6 separate regions of the Homo sapiens genome follow, and regions 2, 3, 4, 5 and 6 are each linked to region 1. Evidence: promoter capture Hi-C in 16 types of primary human blood cells and fetal thymus (Javierre and others, 2016). All regions are on one chromosome and are shown on one strand. Each heading gives the region's core, a stretch centred on a gene start or on the middle of the fragment in contact. The rest is flanking DNA. Distances are from core to core; before and after follow the strand shown. Region 1 holds the start of MAP3K4 (mitogen-activated protein kinase kinase kinase 4). Region 2 overlaps PRKN (parkin RBR E3 ubiquitin protein ligase). Region 3 overlaps PRKN (parkin RBR E3 ubiquitin protein ligase). Region 4 has its middle 44 kb from the start of AGPAT4. Region 5 has its middle 5.8 kb from the start of AGPAT4. Region 6 overlaps AGPAT4 (1-acylglycerol-3-phosphate O-acyltransferase 4).

Region 1 (3,160 bases), core at 328-2,827:
CGAAAACTGATCCGTTAACAAATTTATAATAAACTTTCTGACAAAATTTCTAAAAATACTAGATGTATTCAAAAGGAACCAAAGGAATTCTCATTACACCCTGTACCATTATTCAGAGAAGTTGTTCCTTAGAAGTACCCAGAACTATCTCAGAATTAAAAGAGGCAACTAATTTCTTCACAGCTTATAAAAATAAAACAAATTTGTTTGGGCCAACTGAATGATGACAAGCAAGAATATGGCTCCTGTGTTCAGTTCTAACTACAGTTACAGGTGTGAATTTTCTTTAAGCAGGAAAAAGAGGACACTTTACTGCCTTATTCCTAGAACCATAGAGCAAGACCATAAGATGCCAAGAGGAGCTGCCGAGGTATTTTCATTACAGGGGACAGGGGGCAGCAGTTTGCAAGTTTACTCTGGGATGCAAAGGACAGGGAGTAAGAGGACATTTGAACATACAAACATAGGCACGTAAAAAGAGGGAAATTCTCAGTTATGGTGAGTTTGTTCTCTCAATTAAAAAAAAAATAAAGACATAAAAATAAGTTAATAGAGTATGGAAGAAAAAGCAACAAATGCTTTGGTTACCGAAGTTCCACCTTAGAGCTTCCTGCAGTAGCAAAGTTTTAGACAAATGAATCCTTACTTTTGTGCACGTGTGAGCAACAATCTGCACAATACTAGCACTAAAGGACAGTAAGGGGCCCTCAGAACAGGAAAGCAACGTATCTGTCTGCATAGTCTAAGTGCAATTTCTCACGGAAGAGATGACAGGCATTCTCTGGAGCGGGCAAAAGGAGAGGAGGAGGAGAACGCGGGGAAATAGCCAGTACGCACTCGATTTCCGAATGTCTCTTTTACTCGAATGAGGGCAGAGGGGAGGGACCACTTTCGTTCAGTAATGATGAGAGGCACTTCAGTGAGGCCACTCTTCCGAAGCTAGCGGCAGGGGAGGCAGCCGCACTCTGCTCCCAGCCCCCGCAACGTTGAGGGTGAGCTGGGGGAGTCTACAAGGGAAGGGGAGCCGGCAACACGCTCGAGCGGAACCCTGCGGAGCTGCAACCCCGGGAGGAGTCGCCGGACAGACTCAGACGCGGTCCCCTGGGACCCAGGGATGCACCGCGCCCCTCCCGCCCCAGCCTGCAGAGACTGGATGCTTCCCTCCCCACCTGGCGGGAAGCAGAGGCCCTCGGGCCCGACCGAGTTCGGGCCAGGACCCGCCCCGCTTTCTGCGAGCGACCGACTGCGGCCGCCACACTCACCTCGCCGCCAAGCAGCACTCGGGTTCTGACTCGGTCTCGGGTTCCGGTGGCGGTGGTGGCGGCGGCGGCGGTGGCGGCGGCTCCTCCATGGCGGCGGCAGGCGTGACGGCAAAGGCGGGAGGAGGGACCAGCGCGGCAGCGGCTTCTCTCATCCGTGCACGGAGCCCCGCATGGCCGCGGCGGGCAGTAAGCTGCAGCCTGGCGCGGGGCACCGGAGCCCCGAAGTGCGGGAGTGACTCGACTCCGCCTCCGCCTCTACCCCGCCGCAGGAGCCGTGCGCGCCGCGGCCATCTTGGAAACGGCGACCGGCCGAGCGCCGGGGCTACGGTGGGCGGCGAGGGACAAGCCTCCCAGATCGGCGGCGGTGGCGGCGGCGGCGGCGGGCGCCGGAATGCGACCGGACGGGGGCGGAGACGGCGGCAGGGAGGGGCGGGGAGCGCCGTCAAGTGTCGGCGCGATTCGGTCCTGGAGCCGGGTCTCGCCAGCTCGCCCGGTGTCGCCCCGGCCGGTGGCAGTGGGGGACTGTGGAGCGGAGCCGGGCTGTGCAGCGGGCTGGGAGCTCGAGGCTTCCCAGGCGGTCGTCGGTCTGGGAGGGACGCTGGGTAGGGCCGATGAGCGGGGCGGGCGCGACGCTATGAGCCCGGCCGGAGTCGCCGCCCAGGGACCTGCCACCCGGATCCCACCTTCCAGGAGGACGGACGTCACCCAGACGCTCGCAACTCCGGTCTCTTGACAGCGCAGCCTTCCACAGGCTCGAATTTTTAAGACTTGACATAAAGTCTCCGGAATTCCAGATTATTAAAGTGACCCCCTCATTTCAACCCGGCAAAACTTCTCACCCCAGTGTCATAAGATTCGATAGCGATCTCCCAGAAACTTGGACTGGAATGCTCCTACACTGAGGGGATGGGGGGAAGAAGAAATGCTAAAGATTATTTCAGAGTTACAGAAATCCTGTTGAAATTCCAATGCATCGTTTACTCTTAGCGCTGGGGCTTCACAGTTTTTTTTTAAGTTGGAAATATTTACAAAATTTCCCATAGGGTGAAATCCAGAGTTAATCCAAAACCAGAATCTTTTAAAATTAAGTACATTCAAATGTGCAGATTTCTTAAACCTCATTTAGTTGAGCTTTGATAGGTGAAACGCACGTTTTGAACAACTCTGGTAACAAAGAAAAACATTAAATTGATTATAGGTATGTTATATTTAAAGACCAGTTGTGAAATTAGCTATATTGTGCTCAAAGTATGTTACTGACATTTCTCCGTCGTTAAAAGGAACTGCTCCATTCTAGTTTTTTATAATAGTCTGTATTATGTATATAGCCTGATAGTGCTGAATTTCTGAATTGACCTTCATCTTATTTACTCAATAATATTCATTTGACAAATACTTATTAAGTGCATATATGTGTCAGGAACTGTACTAGATGCTGAGGATATAGCAGTAAGCGCAACAGACCAAGCTAACAGCTTAGTAAAGGGTGAGGTAAAACAAAACAAAAAAGTATTCAAAAAAATAAACTAATTTTTATCTTAATTTAAAAAATTACAAATTTTTAAAAATCACAAATTGGTATCCATGTATAATTCATTTCCGTGCATTTTCTTGTGTGAAGAAAGCTCAGTAAAAGTATTTCTTAGGTTTCTGTAATTCTAGTTCTCTACTCGATTTTCTTCTGCAATTTTCTGAGCCAGAACCCTTCTTAGAAGGCATATTAGAGACTTTAAAAGTTAAATAATAAAATAAATCTCTTCTTTAAACAGCATTGTACTACGTATTCTTTGGTATGACTACCGAATTTAAGCTAGCTGATAATGCAGACACGTGTGTCCAAGTCACAAAACACTTAGCAAATATAATCAGCATGCGGGAGACCTGTGGCTTGTTCTTGT
Region 2 (3,160 bases), core at 487-2,986, 410 kb before region 1:
AAAATTAGCTGGGCGTGGTGGCACACACCTGTAATTCCAGCTACTTGGGAGGCTGAGGCAGGAGAATTGCTTGAACCTGGGAGGTACAGGTTGCAGTGAGCGGAGATCGTGCCATTGCACTCCAGCCTGGGTGACAAGAGTGAAATTCCATCTCAAAAAAAAAAAAAAGATTAGGTTTAATTTTCTAATCTTCCCCATGTCCCCAGCTCACCTCATCCTACTTTCTTCTAAAATATTGGAGGTGTTCTGTCGCTTTTGTTCTGTGGACCCTTAACTGAACTCTGCATCGTGCAAGGAGTCCTCAGACAGCAGGGTCCTTGTAGACCTGCGCAGTCCAGCGTGGTGGCCAGCATGGTGGCCACTAGCCCTGTGAGGCTCCTGTCCAACATGGTGCCCACGTGAGGCTCCTGAGCCCATAGAATAGGGCTAGTCCCAACTGAGATGCATTGAAAGAGTAAAAGCAGACCCGATTCCAAAAGCTTAGTAAAAATGAATATAAAATAACTCATTACCAATTTTTATATCGATTGCATGTTGAAATGATACAATTTTGAATATATTTAGTTAAGTAAAATATTGAAATTAATTTTACTTGTTTCTTTTTCCTCTTTTCATATAGCTACTAGACCATTAAAAATTATTGCTGTTTCAATTGGACAGCACTGTTCTAGGCTGTATCCTTTCACGGTGGTTTCAAAATCAAAAAGACAAAAGTGTTGCAGAATTACACTAGCAGAGTGAATTACACTAGAATGCTGGCATCATCCCTAGCACTGGGATTGGTACTTTCTGGGGGCTATCATTTCCAGCAAACTCCATTGGTCCCAGTTCACCTTCCTCTTCTTACTGCTGAAACGGGAGAGTTCCCTGACCCACCCCGGTTGCAGGACATGCAACAGGCATATGGCTCATCAGTTCAGCCACCACCACTGCTCAAACTCCTTATGGGAGGGGGAGCATGCAGATGAGCAGGTGCAGGAGCCAGGACGAGCACTTCTGGGCTCTGGCCCCACAGTAGTGTCTAGGGATGGGTGCCTGTGACTCCCAAAGCCCAGTTAGCTGTGTGTTACAGTGCGCTCTTTTAATTTTGCTGTCTGCAGACAGCTTAAGTGTTAAACAGCTCAGTGGACCCTCTGCCTTTTTGCAAGGGCAGAGGGCCAGTGTGACAGCTTTCCATATTCCAAGTTCTTGTCTGGCATCCAGAAAAATCAGGTCACCCATGGACTTGAAGGATGGTGACTGCAGGGTTTTATTGAGTGGTGGATGTGGCTCTCAGTGGGATGGATGGATGGGGAGCTGGAAAGGGGATGGAGTAGAAAGATGATCTTCCCCTGGAGTTGGGCCGTCCAGCAGCCAATCTCCTCTCTAACTGTCTGCAGCAGAACTCCTCTCGACATTCAGATATTCCTTCTCTTCTCTCCTCTGCTGCTCTTCTGCTCATGGAGCCTGGGGTTTGGAGTTTATATAGGGACAGGATAGGGGGGCATGACAGGCCAAAAGGCAACATTTGGGTGTGAAAACAGGAATGCCTGTTCCCATTTAGGGCCATGGGTTTCCAGGCTTGAGGGTCAGGCCTTTGCTGGGGAACTGCCCTCTTCTACCCAATATTTCCCTGTCTCCTGTCTGTAACCTCCTCATCTCCTCACTACAACCTGCACCTCCCAGGTTCAACACTGTGCTCCCATGGAACCTCACATCCATCATATGATCAGGACACAGCTGACTGTGAACTCTGTGAGGCCATGAAGAATGGCCAGTGCCTTACCATTCACACACAGTACATGCTTGATGAGTACTTGTGGAATGGAGGGAGCATTGGGTAGAGCAAGGGAGAGGTGAATTGTGACTCCTCTGAAACTGGAAATTACATACGTTCTGCATCTTTGCAGGCTCCAGCAATGCACAGCATACATTCTGAGTGGAGTTCCTGAGTAGGAACTTTTGGTTGAATGAATGAGCTAGAACAGGGTCTCTAAATGGTGCATACAAGTCACTCGGGGATCCTGGTAAAATGAAAGATTCTGGTCTAGTACTTCTTGGGTGGGGCCTGAAATTCGGGTTTTCTGACATGCTCCTGGGTGATGCTGATGGTGCTAGTCTGGGAACCACATTCTAGGGAACTAACTAGAGCCAGTGCTGTGATGTGAATTTAGTTATCAACATGGATGGGCGTCCCTTCAATTCATGTCTCATGGATGCTCCAACTGACAGTAACTGTTTCAGCCTCCTCTCTATCTGTGACTCTCCTCTCCCCCTAGACTCCAGAAGATTCAGAGCTGCTATGGTGCTCTGTTAGGAAGACCAAGGGCATGGGTGTCATCTCCTTGAGAAAACTCTCTCATCAATGTGACTCTCCTAGGATTTTGCTGCAAAACCTTATCCTCCTCCATTGAAAGCCATAAACCTTTGAGTGTGTCTCCCTAGCCTCGACTTTCTCTGGGACTTCACTCCCATCCTGCCCCCTCTCTGGCTAGCGTCTTCATTCTCTCTCTTTTCATCATCTTTTGCTGTTTTCAAACTGATTCAGAGCTCTCTGTTGTGAAGCCTTTTCCACCCCATCATGCCTGTGATCTTAGCCTCTGAATCTAGCTGACCATTGAACCATTGGACCAAAATTATGGCCTCCGAGGTCACTAAAGTACTTTCCCTGGCAGAAAGTCTTAGTTATTCCTCTTGTACTCAGGATTGACCTCTCCATTCTCAGTACTGGGTTTCCTCAGCACTGTGCTATCCTCTTCTGCTTCTCAGAAGTTGAGGCTTTTCCAGCTACTACTGCTTGTTTATTCTGCAAAGGTTTGATGATTGCCATTATTCTGTTAGGTCCTTGCAACTTCATGATAATCACGTGGAATTAGAAGTGACTTGAATTTGAGGTGACTGCAACCTATCCAAATGGAAATATGCAATAGGCAAAGTGCATCTTAAAAGAGGAGTTGGGAAGGGTGGAATAGATTTTGAGAAGTTGTTAGAAGAGAGGCAGTCAATTAAGCTTGATGTTAGAATGCTCCCTGAAGGGGCAAATGTGAAGGGCAGAAAAACAAATGCTATCTCCACGTGCTCTTACCCACTGACCTCAACCCGCCTGGATCTCTTCTATGGGACCCTTAAGACTTACACAAGAATACTCAATTCAACCCATGATTGTGCATTGTATCATGGA
Region 3 (3,160 bases), core at 339-2,838, 390 kb before region 1:
GGTCATCCCAGAAAGAACTCAGGATGAAGCAGCCCTGCAGTTAGACCCCCCCAGGAGATGAGGCTCTTCCTGCTTCTGGTTCCTGATCACAGGGCCAGCCTCCAATTCCTCTTATTTGAAAACAAAGCAAACCAACCAGCCAAACTAAAAAGATGTCTGCTGGTGAACAGTTGCCAGACAACGGAAAGCAACTAATTGGGGTCTTTGCTGCCATGTTTTCCTACGTCTCTGATTCGGTCAGGGTCCCTCGGGAGAGAGAAGCCAACCCAGATGGGCACAGGAGGAGATGTTAATGAAAGGGATGACCTGCAGAGGCGGGCTGGGGACACAGGAACCATCACAGGGCTGAGGGCCTCAGAGCGAGCATCACTGGGGAGCCATGACCACCCCAGGCCTGTAAAGGCAGGGGGAGGAAGAGTCCCATGAACCCCATGAGCTGCAGCCATGGAGAAGGGGCCTCATGACAGGAGGTGTCATCACGGAGCATCCAGCGTTGCCTGGAAGTAGCCCCACACAGGAAGGGAGTGAGCATGGACATCTTGCCTCCTGCCTCCTGCCATCCGATCTCTTGCTAATGTCTCCCATGGGCCATACCCCACCGAAGCCAGACACAAGGGATCCTAGGGGCACAGCCCATGGGAGCCAGCCTTCCAGATGCAAAGCAGAGAGGGGAAAGAATACAGAATTACCAGCACCTTCTCTATGAGCGAATTTACCAATCTTCCCAAGTTTCCTTATTTCAACCATAGCTGCTTTTGGATGTGGGAAGGCACGAACCAAACAAGCTATTTCTTCAAATTTCATGACCCAATTCGATTTGATAACAGAATGAAGGGCTTTTATTTTCATAGAGCTGGCTTATTTTCTGTTCCCTACATTTCTCTCAAGCAGCATGGTCTCCAGGAGGATGACCTCTGCAGTTTCATTGACCTGAAATCTTTGAAAGGATGACACTCTACACATCTCACAATGAAAGCCCAATTGCAGCCTCCCTTGGAACCGAAGGCTTTAGATGTGTTCTCACATCTGAATTTTGCTAATAATAACTAAATACCCTCATCAGCCCTCTTCACACTTTCTTTCAATTCCATTCAGTTGCAGGGTTCTTTGCTTTGAGCCATTTGTGACTCGTTTCTGCTGTTCTTCCCTTTAGCATTGATTGGTTTCTGTTCTTGCACATTACATGCTCCAGCCAGGAGAGCCCATTTCTCTTGAGTCCCAATCAGCTTTTCCTATCAGTTAGACTGTTGGACCTAAAACTTAATGTATTTTTTGATTAATGCAATAATTCTTTAAAGCAAACTCAAAAATTGGCTTTAAATTGGTTTTAAAATATTGAACAAGCTTTACGTTGAAACTGCTGGGAGTTTGGGAAAGCAGTGACAGAAGATCAATCCATCACAGACTAACGAGAGTCCAGTCCCGTTTGCTTTCCTTGTTTTTCCCTGCTTGTTCTCCTCCCCGTGTTCCAGTTCCTTCCGCGTATTGCCCCTGGAGGCTTGCTAATAACTACACACTTGCTCTTGCAAAAGCCACATAAACTGGTTCTAGGTAGTTGATGTTCCTCTCCCTATTCAGCAGGAGTGCAGACTGAGACTTCCAGATTTTTAGTGGTGCTCTCTAAAGCCGCAGAAGAGATCAATTTCAGTGGCTATACTTTACCTAAGTAGTTGGGGATCAGCAACTGCTCTCTCTAATAGATCTACAGTGTCTGAGGGGAATGTGCCCATGCCTGCCTACCAACCATGCCTCCTGCTCAACATTCTAGGCCCAGATCATGTTACCTCCTCCCAGAAGCCATCTGCCCTCCCCACTACATCCTGTAAGCTTTCAGACAACTGTACATTCTGATACATTCGTCACTTGAAATATCGTTTCTCTGTATCTTCACAAAAAGTCTGGGCTTTGTTTTGTTTGTTTGTTTGTTTGTTTTTGTTTTGATTTTTTTTTTTTTTTTTTTTTTGAGATGGAGTCTCGCTCTTTCACCCAGGCCGGACTACAATGGCGCTATCTTGGCTCACTGCAAGCTCTGCCTCCCGGGTTCACGCCATTCTCCTGCCCCAGCCTTCCAAGTAGCTGAAACTACAGGCACCTGCTACTGCACCCGGCTAATTTTTTGTATTTTTGGTAGAGACGGGGTTTCACTGTGTTAGCCAGGATGGTCTCAATCTCCTGACCTCGTGATCCACCCGCCTTGGCCTCCCGAAGTGCTGGGATTACAGGCATGAGCCACTGCGCCCGGCCTAAAAAGTCTGGGCTTTGTTAGTGGAGGGTTTGTGCCTGTCGCATCCTGTATCCTGCAGTGCCTGGCACAGAGTAGGTGCTCATTAAGTGTTTGTTGAATGAATGACAAATCCCTCCTTCATCCACACACCTCCCTCCCTACCATGAAGCTGGGTAAGTACAGGAAAAGAATAGACAGTAGCTTCAGGGCTGGATTATGTCTCAGTAATCTTTTGAATCATAAAAGAAAATTAGATTTCCACAGTAAACCTCAGTTCCTTCCATCTGCCTCCTAAATTAGAAAAATAAACCCACCATTTGCTTGGGATAAATATAATAATTTGCTTGGGATATGCACTTGTATCGTGCTTGATTACAAAGCACTTTCACGTACACCATCTTATTCTGAGGCTTATCTCAAGTTTTTGTGATAGATTTTGTCCATAGGCAAGGGAGAGGGAGGGAGAGTGGCCACCCAGGGGCATAGAGTTGACAAGCCCCAGACCATTATTTTACCCAGGTCTTTGGGAGCTGCACCAGCCAGCACTGATGACCACTCCAGTCCCAGTGAAGCAGAAATGCGCTTCCATTGTTCTTACTGGTCACTCTGCCTTTTGAAAGAGGGGGATGAGTGGGCTGTTGTTGGCTTGTCAAACACAATACCAGGGATGGCCAACTCAAATGCCAACAGCAACACAACCCTTAAATGAGTGAGGCAGAGTTGAAGCCTGCTTCATGGACCTGTCAATATTTTGATAAGGATGCAAAGATAAATTTCATTTTCTTCTGCTTTTCCTATTAAAACAAACAGAACAACAAAAACACATCAACACAAAAGCCTGCAAGCATAATGACACATAGCCCCATGCTGGGGCGGGTGGGGGTGGTCTGTGGCAAACTGGAGTGGGCATGGCTTGTTGTGGGGTGTTGGGGAGAC
Region 4 (3,160 bases), core at 383-2,882, 330 kb before region 1:
ACCATGCTTCTTAAACAATAGTTACTAGTATTCTTATTATCAATGTCTTTTATTTTATCCTGTAGGAAATTATTCACTTGTACAAATAAAATAGAACTACTTGGGATTTTTAAAAATGATCCTTCCCTCCTTCATTTTGGGTAATATTTGAAGAACCACTGTTCAGGAGAAAATACCATTAATTTAGACCAAGAAATGTCCACAAGATTCATGTGGACAAAGGAAACACATAATAAAGAAAACCTAGAGTTTGCAAAACAAATAGAACTTGATAACTGTGGTACCTCTGCCCTGAGCTTCCAGTCTCCTTCCCCCTAACTTTATGAGCAGTGAAAACTTCATATCAAATGTACCCTGGAAGACGTTTTCCAGGAAAAGAAAGCAACCCCCTTGACTAGACAATGAGCAGTTGTCAAGCTGCTAGGGACCGATTTGTTCCTAGATCCAGATGGGGACTGGATCCAGTTCCCATGCAGCTGTGCACAGCAACTGATCTTCTCAGATGTGGAACAATGAGGCTTTCATCAGGACATATCCTATGGTGAGTGCTAGACAGAACTCAAAGGCTGGAGATGGAGAGGGATAGTGTTGAGAGCTGGGGAAGGGTTAAAAAACTCACCCTCTAACCTGAAGAGTCACATTACAGGTTTTCAAACACATTGGTTAGTAGAGAAGGAGGCCAAAATGAAAAACAGAAAATTCTTCATAACCTGGAGTTTCTAAAGTGCAGTGCTCTTCATTTCAAAGTTTATAACGCAATCAGCACTGAACCAATGCTGTTTCATAGAACACTTTAAGATAATTGCTTTGATGAGCCCACAGAACTTATTTAACAACTTGCTGCTGATATCATTATGCTAAAACTTGGGATGCGTATGAAATTTTGGAAGAAAAAAGGAAAATAATAAACCGTCGGATTGGGAAAAGAGATTGAAATCCAGCTATTTCTTCTAAGTTGTGATAGTAAGTAGTCATGATTATTAGATATATCTCTTTCATGCCTCACTTTTTCAGTGCCCTCCTCCCATACTTAGGATACATCGCTAAAGTTGCTAGGAAGACAGGGCTGAATACACAGCCCTGCCCTTGGCATACATGGTCTAATTTCAAGGGATTGCTTTAAATAGAATTCTCTGCTAGAGCTAATCGGTGTCAAATATGAGAAGAAAATTATCCTTTCATAGAAGGGGAAAGTCTGCCTTCGTTCAATGGTGTGCCTGTGCAATGATCGTGCCGTCAGGTTTCACAAAAGCCTCTTTGTACCGAACACTGCTGATGCAATGAATGTGACCACAGTAGAGCCTGTGCCCTCTTTTGTTGCTGAATGTAGACTCCTACAATGCAGTGCCACCTACTTCCCCGGCTTTGTTTTCATAATAACTGGTTTGCATTTTTGGTACTTTAACCAAGTGTTGTAGCCCAGTGCTTTTAAGATCTATGATTAACAGGAATTTTAATATGTTGTATTTTGAATAGGTTTGCCAAGCTCCTGACGGTTTCCCTAATCACCAGGAACTTAAATATCACCAAACTGCTCACAAAGAGCCTCAGCTGCAAAATGCATATCCTGCCAGGTGTAAGGTTTCTGTCTAGACCAATGAGAAGGGCTTGAAGGTCACTGAATTCCCACATGGGGTCATGCACCTTTCCACGTCCTGAAGACACATCAGAAAGGATTTTCACATTTATGCATCCATTCTTTCATTCATTCAACTCCCTAAGTTATTTGGGGCCTTATGTGTGACATCTCTTGCTAGATCCTGAGTGGAGCAGGTTAAGCAGAGAGGGGCAAAAGAGCAGAATCAAAGGTAAAGATTACATCATCTCTGGAAAAAAAACGAGCTCTAGAAGACATTGTGTTAGATCCTACTATTGTGGCAATGTATAATTCCCAAAGAGTATAATTATATTGTAATTGAGTAGGAGAATGTCATTATTCTTGAGAGATATATATTTAGGGGTGAAGTATCATGATGTCTACGACATCAAACAGTTTGGCAAAAAGTATATACATATGTGTGTGTATATGTACACATACAGATTCCACTGTGGTCACGTTTGTTGGATCAGCAGTGTTTGGGTACAAAGAGGATTTTGTAGAACCTGACAGCACGATCATTGCCACTATATGTACATATACACATACACATATGTATATATACACATAAGCACACACACACATATATATAATGTGTATATACTGTGTACATACAGTCATGCCTCTCTTAACAATGAGGATATGTTTTGAGAAATCCATTGTTAGGGCCAGGTGTTTTGAGAAATCCATTGTTACGGTGGCTCACACCTGTAATCCCAGCACTTTGGGAGGCTGAGGAGGGCAGATCACCTGAGGTCAGAAGTTCGAGACCAGCCTGGCCAACATGGAAACTCCGTCTCTACTAAAAATACAAAAATTAGCCAGACATGGTGGTGCACTCCTATAATCCCAGCTACTGGGGAGGCTGAGGCAGGAGAATCGCTTGAACCCAGAAGAGGGAGGTTGCAGTGAGCCAAGATCACGCCACTGCACTCCAGCCTGGGCAACACAGCAAGACTCCGTCTCAAATTAAAAAAAAAAAAATGCATTCTTAGGCAACTTTGTTGTGTAAACATGTTAGAGTACACTTACACAAACCTAGATGGTATAGCCCATGAGGCACCTGTTTCTCTCAGGCTACCAACCTGTACAGCATGGGACTTTACTGAATACTGTAGATAATTGTAACACAACGGTTTTTGTGCATCTAAACATAGAAAAGGTGCAGCAAGGGCTAGGAGCGGTGGCTCATGCCCATAATCCCAACACATTGGGAGGCCAAGGTGAGTGGATCACCTGAGGTCAGGAGTTCGAGACCAGCCTGGCCAACACGGCAAAACTCCGTCTCTACTAAAAATACAAAAACTAGCTGGGTGTGGTGACGGGCACCTGTAATCCCAGCTACTAAGGAGGCCGAGGCAGGAGAATTGCTTGAACCCAGGAGGTGGTTGCAGTAAGCCAAGATCATACCACTGCACTCCAAGCTGGGTGACAAGAGCAAAACTCCATCTCAAAAAAAAAAAAGGTACAGCAAAATCCAGTATACAGTATAAAAGAAAAAAATTGGTACACCTGTGTAGGGCATTTACTCTGACTGGAGCCTGTGGGACTGGCAGTTGCTCT
Region 5 (3,160 bases), core at 346-2,845, 290 kb before region 1:
ACAAATGGATTAATGCTGTTTTGAGGGAGTGGGTTTGCTATCACGGGAGTGGGATACTGATAAAAGGATAAGTTTGGTCCTCATTTTCTCTCTGTCTCTCGTGCATGCTTCCTTACAATGTGATACCTTTGCCATGGGTTTACTCTCCCAGATGCAATGCCATGCTCTTGGACTTCGCAGTCTCTAGAACTGTGAGCCAAGTAAACCCCTGTTCTTTATAAGTGATCCAGTCTGTAGTAACCGGTTATAGCAGTGAAAAACGGACTCAGACAGTATGGAAAGAGATAAGAGATGAAACTAGAGAGAGAGAGAGAGAGAGAGAGAGCCAGATCATGAAACATCTTGCATGTCATTCTAAATAATTTGACTTTTCTCCTGAAATAAAAAGTAGAAGAAGAGGTTTCTTTGAAGTCATTCAAGAGTAGAGGGGCCCTGTACTAACCCAGGAGCAGTGGTGGTGAGAGGAGAGGACTTTGGAGAAATATCTTTGAGAAGAGAATTAACAGGATGCTTTGAGGGCTGTGAGGGAAGAGAATTAATAGGATGCTTTAGGGGTTGGTGGGGGGAAAAGAAGCAAGAGGAACAGGGAAGAATAGAAGATAACTTCAAAGTCATCAGTTGCACCAAAGTGTGGAACTAGAAAGTTGGGAAATTGGACCTCAGAGAACTGGCCAAGTTGGGGCCAAAGGTTTGTTTTTGGACTTGTTCAATTTGAGCTTCCTTTGGGACAGATAAATGAAGATATTTACCAGGTTATTGGATAACTGTCTGAGGTTTAGGGAAAAAATGCCAACTGGAAATATAGATCTGAAAGTTACCTGTATATTAATGGATGGGGTGAAGGGAGGAGGAAAGAGTGGTCATTTTTTGAGGTTCTACATTATTTCTGGTGCTTCACACATTCTGTCTCATTTGAACATCACAACTAGACCCATGAATTTTGTGTATAAGGAACGTTGAGTCTCCAAAACTTAAGAATTAGGACTCTGGTTGCAAATGACAAAGCTAGCTTAATGGTAAAATTTATTATAAGAATACAGGGGACTCTCGGGGTACCCAAATTCAGAGAGGAGAGCAGCATGTTCTCATTTTTGTTTTGCAAAACTCACTTTTGCAAAGGCTGTGGGTGAGAAGCAGACTGGAGGGGGCAAGAACAGAGACACGGAGGCCAGCTGGGATCCTTTTCTTTTCTGCTGCCTCTCTTGCAAATCAATCTTGAAGCTAAGTTTCATTGAACTAGACATAGCTTTGGCTTTAAACCAAGATAAAATGAGCGATCCTGGAGAAAAGATCTCCTATACCTTCTGCCAACTTTTGTCTGATAGTTGCCTAATTTCAGTGCTATTTTTTGGGTGTAAAACTGACTCTCTCTATATAAACTCAAAACGCATGTACTACAGATGGACTTTCAATGACACTTCGTAGAATGATCATGAGTTTAAGTAGAAATTGTCTTTTTACTCTTTCATGTTAATAGAATTTTGTTTCAGCCTTGCCTTTGGATCTGAAATCCTAGGAAATACAGTGGAAAGAATTCTGTGGTGAGAATCATTAAACACTGAGTCTGGTTCAGCGCTGCTTCCTGTTACTTGTGTGACCCTGGACAGGCAAACCCAGCCTCCCTGGCTCTGATCCCTCCTCTGTTAAATGAGGGATTTGGATTGACACGAGTACTTCTCAAACTTTAGTGAATCTTCTGGGGATGTTGTTAAAATGCAGTATGTATTCACCAGACCTGGGGTGGGGCCTGAGACTCTGCATTTCCAACAAGTTCCTAGGTGATACTGATGCTGCTGGCTCAGGATCGCACTCCAATTAGGCCACCCTCCAAGGTGCCATCATGCTGTAAGCTATAACAACTACCAAATAAAGAAAAGCATTATGTCAACAATGGATAACAATAAATACTTATTTTAGAAAATAAATATAGCTTTTTCTTTTTTTGAAACAGGGTCTTACTTTGTCACCTAGGCTGGAGTGCTGTGGCATGAACACAGCTCACTGCAGCCCCGACCTCCAGGGCTCAGGTATCCTCCTGCCTCGGTCCCCCAAGTAGCTGGGACTACAGGTGTGCACCACCATGGTTGGCTAATTTTTGTGTTTTCTGTAAAGACAGGGTTTTGCCATGTTGCCCAGGCTGGTACAAATATAGCTTTAGTTTTCTGTTTGTAAAAGTAATGCATGCTTACGAAAATTGTTCTTAAAAAAATCACATAGGCCGGGCGCGGTGGCTCACGCCTGTAATCCCAGCACTTTGGGAGGCCGAGGAGGGCGGATCACGAGGTCAGGAGATCGAGACTATCCTGGCTAACACGGTGAAACCCCGTCTCTACTAAAAATACAAAAAATTAGCCGGGCGTGGTGGCGGGCGCCTGTAGTCCCAGCTACTGGGGAGGCTGCGGCGGGAGAATGGCGTGAACCCAGGAGGTGGAGCTTGCAGTGAGCCGAGATCGCGCCACTGCACTCCAGCCTGGGCGACAGCGAGACTCCGTCTCAAAAAAAAAAAAAAAAAAAAAAAAAATCACATACCATGCAATGACAGTAAAAATCATCCCAAGTTTCATACCACTTGAACTAATGTGCTCTATTGTCACTTGGCTATGAAGAATACAAGTGCTAGGTTTCAGTATTGGCATCGTATTACCTTGTCTTTTAAAATCAGGTTGTGAAACTGGTATCTTTTTCAATTTGTTGCCAATCAGTTATGCGTTAATTGATTTGAATTCAGTTCCTTCTGTTGTGGTAGATTTGCTTCTGTATCGTATGATTTCAAGTTGCTCATTGCCTGAATTCAGGACAGGGTAGTGGGTGGCTTTCTGGGGCCATCTCAGGCGGGCTGAATTGACCTGAAGATGGCAATAAGAGAAAAAAGCCAAGTAAATATCAAGAACAATTTTTAGCATAAAATTCAGTGTTAAGATTCATTGAGAGCTAATCAATAGAAACGAAGGTTCTGTAAATACATCCATCTTATGGGAATAACTTAGGTCATAACCATTGTTGGCAAAGGAGGAAATTTTTCTTAGTTCCTCTGCACTTTCCCCAATGATATTAATGTTACACCTCTTTGATCGTACTTGAAATGATTGTAATAATAACGAGAGCCGTAAGAGTTTGTTGGTCATAAAAACATACAACATTTTAAGAACTTTATTGGGTT
Region 6 (3,160 bases), core at 397-2,896, 270 kb before region 1:
GCTGAGGCATGAGAATCTCTTGAACCTGGGAGTGGGGGTTGCAGTGAGCCTAGATTGTGCCACTGCACTTCCAGCCTGGGCGATAGAGTGAGACTCATTCTCCAAAAAAAAAAAAAAATTAAATGCTTGTGGTAAAATAGTCCCCAAGTCTTTCACATCTAGCCATGTGATTAAACTTTCAACCAAGTCTTGCTACAACCTAGCTTGAGTAATGACTCTCTGTGGATGGTGTTTCTGTGTTTTTTGCGGGGAGTGGGGTGGGGAGGAGAAATAAGAACCATCTCCCAACATATATAGGTGGTGAAGTCCAAAGCTGAAGTTGCCCCAGATAAGAGAACTCTCCTGTTTTCTAGGACTGTGAGAGGTTATTGCTCTCTTGTGTCAATTTTAGTTGTGTTTTTTCTTTCTGTATTTTGCTTGTCTTATGATTCAAGACATGAACATAAATATACATTTGAAAATTTCCACCAAGAGGTGGAAAAGTTTATAGATTCAGAGAAGATAACTTTGTACAAAACAAAAGTCTAAAAATGGTTGTTGGATACTCTCAGGTATTTGGAGAATCTGCCAACCCGTTTGCAGGAAATTTGTTTTCAAATGGGAAAGGATAGAACAGCCTGAAGATGGGAGTGCAGTCATTTTGAGTTACTTCCGTTATTGCAGCCAAGGGAAGTCACTTTTTAGGGAAGACAATGGACGTAGAGTTTTCATCTCTGAACTGCCACTCTCAGTCTTTGAGGTCTCATGGAGGAAAAAAAGTGTCATAAGACTGGAGATAAGTAAAATTCCTTGTTTTTAAAAGTTGAGAAGTGTAAATACTAGAACTTTCATTCTGGCACGCAGGAGTTTTTTCCTTCCAAGTGTTTTAACGTAGGAAGTAATAAATGATCCCATGGAGCCAGGATGTGTGCGCCAAAACTAAATCATGTTGAGTTAACCTCACTTATTTCATTGGTACCGTTACTGGGTGAGTCAGTTGAGAAAGTGCCAGAGCAAGGGTGATCCTGTAAAGTAAACATTTGACAGACTGCGTCACCACATCCTTGTGTATATGATGGTGACCTGGGGATTGGGACCAGATGGGTTCATAGCTAATGGAACAACAGAATAAGCTTGTATTCACTTCCATATGAAATAGAAGGTGGGACTAACGCTGTCTTTCCTTTTTTTTTCTTCTCTTTCTCCTTCTTGTCCACATTCCTTTTTAATTTCCATGAAGAAAATTAATTTAAATTGACTTCTCATATTTCAAGAACCCTTTGATCATTTTTTTGATGTTGGATTTCAGCAGTTTTAAAAACTTCTGTCTTCATTTAATTTTTTAATGGCATTACTAAGATATAATTTACATACCATAAATTCACCCATTTTAAGTGTATAGTTCAATGAGTTTTGGTAAATTTGGCGTTGTGTAACCATCACCAAAATCCAGCTTAGAACGCCTCTCTCATCCCAAAAGTCTCCTCATGCCCACAGGATCCATCCTCACATGTGTCTGTAGCTCAGACAATCAGTGATCCAGTTTCTGTGTCTGTAATTTGGCCTTTGATAGGTATTGCCTATGAGTGGGATAATTCACTATGTATTGTTCTGTGTCTGGCTCTGTTCATTTAGCATAATATGCTTGAGATCCACCCGTGGCATGCATGGAGCCGGGACTGGTTCCTTCTTGTTAGTGGTCTTCCGTCCTGTGGCTGTACCATCTCTTGCTTCTTTATTCACCGGGTGATGGATATTTGGAACATTTTAGCATTCATCTAATTTTAAGTTTACTACTTTTATCCTGATCCAAAGTTCATGTTAGAAACAAGTGCTGTTTTCATTGCCACTTTCCCCCCATCTCCAACATCTCATTTAGGGCACAGGAAAATTCTTAGTAAGGACTTAGAGGAAAAGTGAAGACCTCTGCCTCCACGCCCACTGGCTAAGGTGGCTGGTCTGCAGGGAGCTCGCAACAGGCGTCTCCAACGTGATGCCAAAGGCTGACTTTTGGGAAAGTGGAAACTCTCCCAGACCTAAAACTGGAGAAAAGGCACATCCATTCTTGATGCCTGTCTTGTGGGCTTATTCGTCTCCTAGGCAGAATGCATGAAAATTTCAGTGTTGCCAAACTGATGAACCCATTTCTTTCCCTTCAATTATTTATCTCCCCACTGATTTCATTAATTAATGAAGCTTTTGGCAATCCACCAGATTTCTTTCGGGAACGCTCTTTGTCAGTGTCGACTGTGTACAGGCTGCAGGGACCGGGGGAGCCATCAGACGCCGTCTCTGCCTCCCGAGCCTGCTTCAGGGAGGACGTGTCAGCTCCGCTGTGTGGCTATCAGAGGAAGCTGGTTTCATAGCACGAGTGTCATGTCTGTCACGTATTTCAGCCCTGGAACTTCTCCCCACATTTCATGTGAACACAGCAAATGTGTTCATCCATGACACACGGCAGAGAGCAGCGCTGGTGGTGAGGAACATCAGCAGAGTGTTTAATCTCAGCTTTTCAAAGCAGCCTCACAGGAAGGAGAACAAAATATTTGATCCACCGAAGACTTTTCCCCAATCTTAGGCACAAAGCCTAATTCTTCTAGATGGTGGCGGTCGCTGCCGTCACCATGCGTGCCTGGGGTTGATTTCCTCTTGCCTGGGAAACTTAGGGTGTTAGCCAGGTTTTCGTATCCTTCCAGCTTTGCCCATTGCCTATACTCAGGATCCAGGGTAAGGGCCAGTCCTACTTAAGGACCAGTCTCCGAGATCATTTCAGTTGAGGGGGATCTGTTTTACTTCCTGCAAGTGCTGTGGTGGGCAGTAACATCCTGCCAACCGGCCTCGCCTGGACACCTTGCTCTGCCTGGGTGAGGGTGGAGTGGCTTTTTCCTGCAGGCTGAAACTCCCTGACTCCTTTCTGCAGCTCATTTCCTTCATCTAAACAGCATGTCCCTCTATGTGTTGACATGGCTGTGTGGACTGAAGGCTGACTCTGCTTATGTTTTGTCTTCTGTGGGGCCAGTGTTTTTTTCTTTGTTTTTACATACAGCTTTATTGAGATATAATTTATATACCATAAAATTCACCCATTGCAAGTGTGCAGTGCAATGGCTTTTTGTATATTCATGGTTGTGCGACCATCACCACTATCTACTTTGAGAGCATTTTTAGCACCTCAGAGAGA

What was found. The method cuts DNA at HindIII sites, captures the fragments that hold promoters and counts their contacts. A CHiCAGO score of 5 or more calls a contact.
Region 2: a contact is called between a fragment that was not itself captured here and the fragment with the promoter of MAP3K4 in region 1, in 1 of 17 cell types (monocytes). The highest score is 5.9, in monocytes.
Region 3: a fragment that was not itself captured here is called in contact with the fragment with the promoter of MAP3K4 in region 1 in 4 of 17 cell types (M2 macrophages, monocytes, endothelial precursors and 1 more); the score reaches 8.2 in M2 macrophages.
Region 4: a contact is called between a fragment that was not itself captured here and the fragment with the promoter of MAP3K4 in region 1, in 4 of 17 cell types (monocytes, endothelial precursors, activated CD4 T cells and 1 more). The highest score is 5.9, in monocytes.
Region 5: a fragment that was not itself captured here is called in contact with the fragment with the promoter of MAP3K4 in region 1 in 2 of 17 cell types (fetal thymus and monocytes); the score reaches 6.2 in fetal thymus.
Region 6: a contact is called between a fragment that was not itself captured here and the fragment with the promoter of MAP3K4 in region 1, in 1 of 17 cell types (fetal thymus). The highest score is 5.3, in fetal thymus.

What each region holds. Positions count from the first base shown.
Region 1 is chr6:160,990,186-160,993,345 of GRCh38, reverse strand. It overlaps MAP3K4 (mitogen-activated protein kinase kinase kinase 4), which reads right to left and starts at 1,577. Exons shown (of 27, transcript NM_005922.4): 1 at 1,263-1,577. The coding sequence starts at 1,414. MAP3K4-AS1 (MAP3K4 antisense RNA 1) reads left to right here and starts at 1,004. Exons shown (of 1, transcript NR_174962.1): 1 at 1,004-3,028. RefSeq lists silencers at 772-901, 815-1,109, 1,572-1,901 and enhancers at 1,170-2,039, 1,992-2,061, 2,082-2,141. The HindIII fragment of the contact is 10,290 bases long and covers 1-3,160 here.
Region 2 is chr6:161,397,319-161,400,478 of GRCh38, reverse strand. All of the region lies in intron 9 of PRKN (parkin RBR E3 ubiquitin protein ligase), which reads left to right. Among named protein-coding and RNA genes, the nearest start is that of AGPAT4, 120 kb to the right of the region's middle. The HindIII fragment of the contact is 2,510 bases long and covers 482-2,991 here.
Region 3 is chr6:161,380,915-161,384,074 of GRCh38, reverse strand. All of the region lies in intron 10 of PRKN (parkin RBR E3 ubiquitin protein ligase), which reads left to right. Among named protein-coding and RNA genes, the nearest start is that of AGPAT4, 110 kb to the right of the region's middle. The HindIII fragment of the contact is 483 bases long and covers 1,347-1,829 here.
Region 4 is chr6:161,316,755-161,319,914 of GRCh38, reverse strand. No RefSeq gene overlaps it. Among named protein-coding and RNA genes, the nearest start is that of AGPAT4, 44 kb to the right of the region's middle. The HindIII fragment of the contact is 3,467 bases long and covers 1-3,160 here.
Region 5 is chr6:161,278,285-161,281,444 of GRCh38, reverse strand. No RefSeq gene overlaps it. Among named protein-coding and RNA genes, the nearest start is that of AGPAT4, 5.8 kb to the right of the region's middle. The HindIII fragment of the contact is 5,594 bases long and covers 1-3,160 here.
Region 6 is chr6:161,255,757-161,258,916 of GRCh38, reverse strand. The region is part of intron 1 of AGPAT4 (1-acylglycerol-3-phosphate O-acyltransferase 4); the gene reads left to right. Among named protein-coding and RNA genes, the nearest start is that of AGPAT4, 17 kb to the left of the region's middle. The HindIII fragment of the contact is 1,063 bases long and covers 1,115-2,177 here.